Linked DNA regions of Homo sapiens: region 1 is linked to region 2. The links are contacts of gene promoters, found by promoter capture Hi-C in blood cells and fetal thymus (Javierre and others, 2016). All regions are on one chromosome and are shown on one strand. Each heading gives the region's core, a stretch centred on a gene start or on the middle of the fragment in contact. The rest is flanking DNA. Distances are from core to core; before and after follow the strand shown.

What was found. The method cuts DNA at HindIII sites, captures the fragments that hold promoters and counts their contacts. A CHiCAGO score of 5 or more calls a contact.
Region 1: a fragment that was not itself captured here is called in contact with the fragment with the promoter of ASPRV1 in region 2 in 11 of 17 cell types (total CD8 T cells, activated CD4 T cells, monocytes and 8 more); the score reaches 7.9 in total CD8 T cells.

What each region holds. Positions count from the first base shown.
Region 1 is chr2:70,217,069-70,220,761 of GRCh38, reverse strand. The region is part of intron 7 of TIA1 (TIA1 cytotoxic granule associated RNA binding protein); the gene reads left to right. Among named protein-coding and RNA genes, the nearest start is that of C2orf42, 28 kb to the right of the region's middle. The HindIII fragment of the contact is 1,480 bases long and covers 1,339-2,818 here.
Region 2 is chr2:69,959,765-69,963,459 of GRCh38, reverse strand. It overlaps ASPRV1 (aspartic peptidase retroviral like 1), which reads left to right and starts at 1,829. Exons shown (of 1, transcript NM_152792.4): 1 at 1,829-3,371. The coding sequence starts at 2,024. The coding sequence ends at 2,803. PCBP1-AS1 (PCBP1 antisense RNA 1) reads left to right here. Exons shown (of 11, transcript NR_033872.1): 11 at 1-1,197. RefSeq lists a silencer at 1,649-1,943. The HindIII fragment of the contact is 12,271 bases long and covers 1-3,695 here.

The DNA of each region.
Region 1 (3,693 bases), core at 829-3,328, 260 kb before region 2:
CAACCACCAACATAGATACATCTCTGTTTTTTTTCCACTTTTTTGAGTGAGTAGTTTTATTTTTTTCCTGAGGAGCTGTATCAAAGTATCATAAACTGGATGGCTTAGAGCAACAAAAATTTATTTTCTCAATGTTTTGGAGGCGTGAAATTCACAATCAAGGTGTCAGCATGTCCATGCTCTTTTGAAGGCTCTGTAGAAGAATCCTTTGTTGCTTCTTCCAAGCTTCTGGTGGTTGCTGGTAATTCTTGGCATTCATTGGCTTGTAGCTGTATAACTCCAATCTCTGCCTTCATCTTCACATGACCATCTTCTCTCTTTGTGTATCCATATAATCATCATCTTTTTTTTTCGAGACAGGACCTCACTCTGTCACCCAGGCTGGAGTGTGGTGGCACAATCACAACTCACTGCAGCCTTGACCTCCCAGGCTTAGGTGATCTTTCCATCACAACCTCCTAAGTAGCTGGGACTACAGGTGTTGCAACACCATGCCCAGCTAATTTTTCTATTTTTTGTAGAGACAGGATTTTGTCATGTTGTCCAGGCTGGTCTCGAACTCCTGGGCTCATGATCCACCTGCCTCGGCCTCCCAAGTGCTGGGATTATAAGTGTGAGCCACCGTGCCCAGTCTGATCTTTACTTCTTATGAGGACTTGAGTCATTGGATTTGGGGCCCACCTTAATCCAGTATAACCTCATCTTAATTACTTCGGCAAAGACCCTGTTTCCAAATAAGGCCATATTTCACAGATACCAGGGTATAGGACTTCATATCGTTTTGAGGGACACAATTCAACACATAACATTAGTTAAGCGTCTCATGGAGTTCGGACTGGTTGGGGTGATAATATTTGTTTCTTTTTAAGAATGTGCATTTCCTGCCAGGCACAGTGGCTCATTCCTGTAATAACAGAACTTTGGGAGGCCAAGGCAGGAGGAGGACTGCTTGAGCCCAGGAGTTAGAAACCAGCCTGGGCAACAGCAAGACCCTGTCTCCATTAAAAAAAAAAAAAAAAAAAAGCCTGGCGACCTAGTCTGTGGACCCCGAATCCCTCCCATTGCCTGTTGCAACCAGTAAAGGCTGTTCCTACCATAGTAAAGAAATTAAAAAAATAAAAAAAACAGCCAACCTTGTTGGTGCATGCTTATAGTCCTAGCTACTAGGAGGCTGAGGTGGGAGTATCACTTGAGCCCAAGGAGTTCAAGGCTACAGTAAGCTGTGATCATGCCTGGATGACAGAATAAGACCCTATTTAATTTTTTTTTAAAGCATTTCGTTTTCATATTTCAAGAAAGGCCTTGAATTTGCCTGTTCCTTCAGTAGTAGATTAAGCTTACCTTTGATGTGTGCACACAAAAGTTACACTCCATTTACTTTTTAGTCTACTCTAAGCTGGTTTTACTCTCACTTTGTACCAATGCTACTCTATTTTCAAGGTCACCTCTTAACCTCTGTTTTCTTGGCTCCCTGGACCATACACTTTTGTGGCTTTCTTCCTTCATCACTGGCTACTCCTCCCTAGTCACCTTAGCTAGTGATTATTCCTTTACCCATTTTTCAAGTTTTGCTGTTTTTCAGGGCTCTGTCCTAGGCTCTTTCTCTAGTCTGCATGAATTTTGTATCTTCAGTCTACTTCTCTGCGTTCCACATTTATTAACAAATGGTCTTCATTTATATGTCTCACAGGCATCTCAAAGTTTTTTCTTAATGGAGCTTTTTGTTTCTTCCTCAGACCTGTTCCCCTTTTCTTTCCTAGTCTTTCTCCGCATTTCAATAAATGCTGTCTTTCCAATTTCTCTAGAGGAACCTAAGAGTTATCTTTTCTCTCCTTTTGCTTGTGGTGTCCCCTCCAGCCCCCATTATTTTGGCCTTGAGTTTAAGTTACATTCACTGCTACTGCAATGCTCCTGGCCACCAACACTTTTTAAAAATCTAGAATATTGCACAAGTTTCATAAAGTATCTTTATCCCCTTACTACCCATTATCCTAAGCCATTCTCCTCTTAGCGCTAAGAATGGCCTTCTTGCCGGGTGCGGTGGCTCACGCCTGTAATCCCAGCACTTTGGGAAGCCAAGGCAGGCGGATCACGAGGTCAGGAGATGGAGACCATCCTGTCTAACACGGTGAAACCCTGTCTCTACTAAAAAAGAAACCCTGTCTCTACTAAAAAATACAAAAAAAAATTAGCCGGGCTTGGTGGCTGGCACCTGTACAGGAGAATGGCAGGAACCCAGGAGGCGGAGCTTGCAGTGAGCCAAGAACGCGCCACTGCACTCCAGCCTGGGAGACAGAGCAAGACTCCATCTCGAAAAAAAGAATGGCCTTCTTAAAACATAGGTCATGATGATTCCTTGCTTAAAATCTTTCAGTTTCATTCTCTGACATTCTTTTTTGCTCGCTGGATTCCACTGAAACTAGTCTTTCACATGCTGCTTTCAGATGCATACCAAACTTTTGTGCCTTAACACACTTTGCAATACTTTTCTCTCTACTGGGGCTTTCTTCCTCATTGTTTTGACTTGGCTATCTCCTATTGCTGTCAGGCTTAGTTTAAATGTCATTTCAGAGAGACCTTTCTTATTCATCCTGTCTGTAGTAGATCCTTGTGCCCATATTCTCTATCTCAGCCTTTTGTTTCTGTCATAGGTCTTACCACAATATGTAATTGCTTTATTTGTTCCCCACAAAAGAATGTAAGAGACCATGTATGCTTGTTTACCAGTGTGTCCCTAGCTCTTAACCGCATGCCTGGAACATAACTGTTCAATATTTATTTGTTGGATGAATGAGAAACCAAATATTGTTAACAAGCTTGTTAGATTGTTTAAGATTTTCTTCTATAGTAGTCTGAGTTGCATGAACTTTATGATATCTACCTCATTAGGGCTGTCGGGCTCACGACCTTTTCAGATGATTAATGTTCCCAAAATTTAATATTCAAATAAGAGAAAAACAATACAAAAGCACCATTGGGTTGAGCATGGTGGCTCATGCCTGTAATCCTAGCACTTTGGGAAGCTGAGGTGGACAGATCACTTGAGGTCAGAAGTTTGAGACCAGGGCCGGGCACAGTGGCTCACGCCTGTAATCCCAGCACTTTGAGAGGCCGAGTTGGGAGGATCACGAGGTCAGGAGATCGAGACCATCCTGGCTAACATGGCGAAACCGTGTCTCTACTAAAAATACAAAAAATGAGCCAGGCGTGGTGGCAGGTGCCCGTAGTCCCAGCTACTTGGGAGGCTGAGGCAGGAGAATGGCGTGAACCTGGGAGGCAGAGCTTGCAGTGAGCCGAGATCACGCCATTACACTCCAGCCTGGGCCACAGAGCGAGACTTAAAAAAGAAAAAAAAAAGAAGAAGAAGTTCGAGACCAGCCTGGCCAATATGGCGAAACCCCATCTCTACTACAAATACAAAAATTAGCCAGGCATGGTGGCAGATGCCTGTAATCCCCGCTACTCAGGAGGCTGAGGCAGGAGAATCGCTTGAACCCAGTTGGCGGAGGTTGCAGTGACCCAAGATCACACCACTGCACTCCATCCTGGGTGACAGAGCGAGACTCTATCTGAAAAAATAAATAAAATAAAATTTAAAAATATAAAAAGCACCATTGCATTTTAGGAAAGCTATCATATGTTGTGTATTTCATAGAGCATTTTCACTTAAACATTTGTGAAAAGCACCAAGTT
Region 2 (3,695 bases), core at 580-3,079:
AAACCACTGGATCAGTTCTTTGAGCCACAGAACAACACTCATCCCAGCAGCTGGGAAGCTATCTGCAAAAGTCCATCTGCAGAAAGGGCTTCCTGGTCTTGCGTGTGGCTGGGCCATTTCTCTGGATGCAGGTTTTTCATTATACAGTCTTCTCAAAGAACCACCTGCTCTCAACACCTTCTCGGTGACTCCATTTCCCCTCCTCTGGGCTCCTGGAATGCCACAATGGCCCCACCTTAGCCAGGCAGCTGTGATGAGAGGTGTTGACCCAACTGCCTCTCTGCTGGCTCACTGAATCAGGTGGAAGGGGCTGGGGACAGCACAGTCTTGCATTGTGGTTGGGGACCTGGGCCATCCAGAGGCAGGACTGTCCAAAGGCAGGGTACTGCTGGGATTCCGCCAGGCACTGGGTGATGCATGGCATAGGGAGCTGAAGAGGGACAGGCTCTTGGCCAGGAAAAACAGCCCCAGAGCCACAGGTGTGCCATCGAGTCTTCCTCCTCTCCCATCCTTAATCACTCCTGTTTGGTGACAGCACACAGCTAGGCCTGGAGCCCAGCAAAGAGCCCCTGGGTCCCAGAGGAAGTTGTTCTGGGGGCTGGAGACAATCACAAATGCCAGGTTTGTGAGCCCCAGACTCTGGTTCATAGCAAGAGGCAGACTTGTGAACAAACCACCAGATCACACCGTAAAACACGCTCAACGAGGAGTGGGTGCCCTTTCTAGGGACAGGCAGAAGGCTCCATGGAGTGACCTTTGAATGGGGACATAAAAGTGGATCCCTTCAACAGCCCCTGCACAGCCCCAAGTCAGGCCTCCAGCCCTTGGACTCACAGATGTCCTCTGTAGACGACTGGATGTCCTCCCGTGCTACCCTTTACCCCTGCAGCGAGGGGCACAGAGCCAGAGCCCTCCAGGTCCTCACCACTGGCATCACCAACATAGTGGACATTTTCCCTCTCAGAATGAAAAGGGAGTGAAATTTCCCGTGATCTTTCCACAAATGACCAGCTTGGGGAGTGGGAGAGGAAGTGCTGCAGTGCCTGGGGAAGGGGCCCTGGAACAGTTCCTGGAAATGGAGAGGGGTGGATAGGGTGGAGACAATGCTCATGGAGTGCAGTATGGGGCCTACCCAGAGTTGCTTGGCCACCCCTCTGCCTCTGAATCAGGGGTGATCAATGAAGGAAAATTACTGCAGCAGTTGAGTCCATGTAAGATGATTGTGCACGTGTGTGTGTGTGTGTGTGTGTGTGTGTGTGTCCTCACTCACTTAAAAAAGACCATTTCTGTGCATTCTTTATGCTGGAACCCTCCTCTGCCTCCCTCTCCAGGAAATCCCATAGGATCCCATACCTGCTTTAGAATGTGTGTGAGACACTTCCCAGTGCCTGGCATGTGGTAGGAGCTCAGTACATGTAAACTGTTTTCCTTTGACCACTCAAAGTAGTCACTTGTTGGGGAGGCCAATGGCGGCTTCCCCGGTCTCTGAGCTGATGGGCGTCTGGTCCCTGCCTCCCCTTCCTTCACTGGCTGATGACAAATACCTGAATGTCATCACATCCTCCGTGTCCTCATCTGTTATTCTGGAACACAGGCCAGGGAGGGTACAGGGTAGTCCCCCTTCAACAGAGGCTGGCCTTTCTTGGGATGTGGGCTGGCTGGTGTTGGTCCAAGGATGGATGCAGAGGGTGAGGCACCCATCCTGCTAGTCCGGCCGGATGCTGGCAGGAGGGCGGGGTGAGGAGGGGCGGAGCTTCCAGAACAAAGGAGAATGGGGAGCCCAGGGGCCAGCCTAGGCATCAAAAAGGCTCTGCAGAGTGAACAGGCCACAGCACTGCCTGCCTCTGCCCCAGCAGTCAGCCAGCCGACCGCGCCTGCTCCCTCCTGCTTGCCCAAGGCCGGGCAAGTCATCCCCACTCTGCTTCGAGAGGCCCCGTTTTCCAGCGTGATTGCGCCGACACTGCTCTGTGGGTTTCTCTTCTTGGCGTGGGTTGCTGCTGAGGTTCCAGAGGAGAGCAGCAGGATGGCCGGGAGCGGAGCCAGGAGTGAGGAAGGCCGCCGGCAGCATGCCTTCGTCCCGGAACCTTTTGATGGGGCCAATGTCGTCCCAAACCTCTGGCTGCACAGCTTTGAAGTCATCAATGACCTCAACCATTGGGACCATATCACCAAGCTAAGGTTCCTGAAAGAGTCCCTCAGAGGAGAGGCCCTGGGTGTCTACAATAGGCTCAGTCCCCAGGACCAGGGAGACTATGGGACTGTGAAAGAGGCCCTCCTGAAGGCCTTTGGGGTCCCTGGGGCTGCCCCCAGCCACCTGCCCAAAGAGATCGTCTTTGCCAACAGCATGGGTAAGGGCTACTATCTCAAGGGGAAGATTGGCAAAGTGCCCGTGAGGTTCCTGGTGGACTCTGGGGCCCAGGTCTCTGTGGTCCACCCAAACTTGTGGGAGGAGGTCACTGATGGCGATCTGGACACCCTGCAGCCCTTTGAGAATGTGGTAAAGGTGGCCAATGGTGCTGAAATGAAGATCCTGGGTGTCTGGGATACAGCGGTGTCCCTAGGCAAGCTGAAGCTGAAGGCACAGTTCCTAGTGGCCAATGCGAGTGCCGAGGAAGCCATCATTGGCACTGATGTGCTCCAGGACCACAATGCTATCCTGGACTTTGAGCACCGCACATGCACCCTGAAAGGGAAGAAGTTTCGCCTTCTGCCTGTGGGAGGGTCCCTGGAAGATGAGTTTGACCTGGAGCTCATAGAGGAGGACCCCTCCTCAGAAGAAGGGCGGCAGGAGCTATCCCACTGAGAAGCCACCTTTTCTTTAACCTCCTAAATATTGGTGGGAAGACCCACCGCTGTGGGGGGGGTTGCATATCCTCATGGGGGTCACTGGGCTTGGCCAGTCTGCTTATCAACTCTTGCTCTTCTCTCCCCTTTGCCTCCCTCTGCAGGGGCCTTAATCTGCCCCTGGTAGGGGAGGCTTCCACTGAACAGGCACAGGTGAGGGAGAGCAGGCTGGCTTAGAGGGACAGGGTCCCCATGGTCATCAAGCTGCTGTTGATGACAAAGACTCAAAGGCTGGAAGAGCTCCCAAGGAAGCTAGAAATGCTTGTCTTTGAAAGAACTGTGGGACCCCTTCAGATTCCCTGAGGTATGGCTTGGTCACTCTCAGGTCCTCAAAGCCTGTCTTAGTTGGGCTGGGTCCTAGCTGCAGGGTCTTTGTGAGGGTCACAGTTGCTCTGGGACACCTCCCTGAAGAGCCTTTCCACCTGTACAATCGTATTTTCTTTCTGTCATTTGCTTTGAAGCCCATTGTGCCTTATGCCAATAATTCAATTGCTGCAAACACCAATAAAGATTGATTCATGGAAAAACCATGTAATGTGTTGATTGAGGATGAGAGGAATGTGAGAGGGAGTCAGCATCAAAGACAAGGGAGATTCACATGTCTACTGAGTGCCTAGCTGGAGGTATAAGAACATATACACAGGGATGACAGGTCTTGGATTTTCTAAGACAGTCTCAGCATAAAATATTTTGACTTATTCCCTCCAGAATTGCTCTCATTATTTTGAATCGTCATAATTCCTCTACTTATTTCAATCTGTAGTATTTTAGCATACAAATTGCCTCTATACCCAAAAGTGACCCTAAAGTTTTATGTGAGATGTCTTGATTGGGGATTGGGAAATTATGGT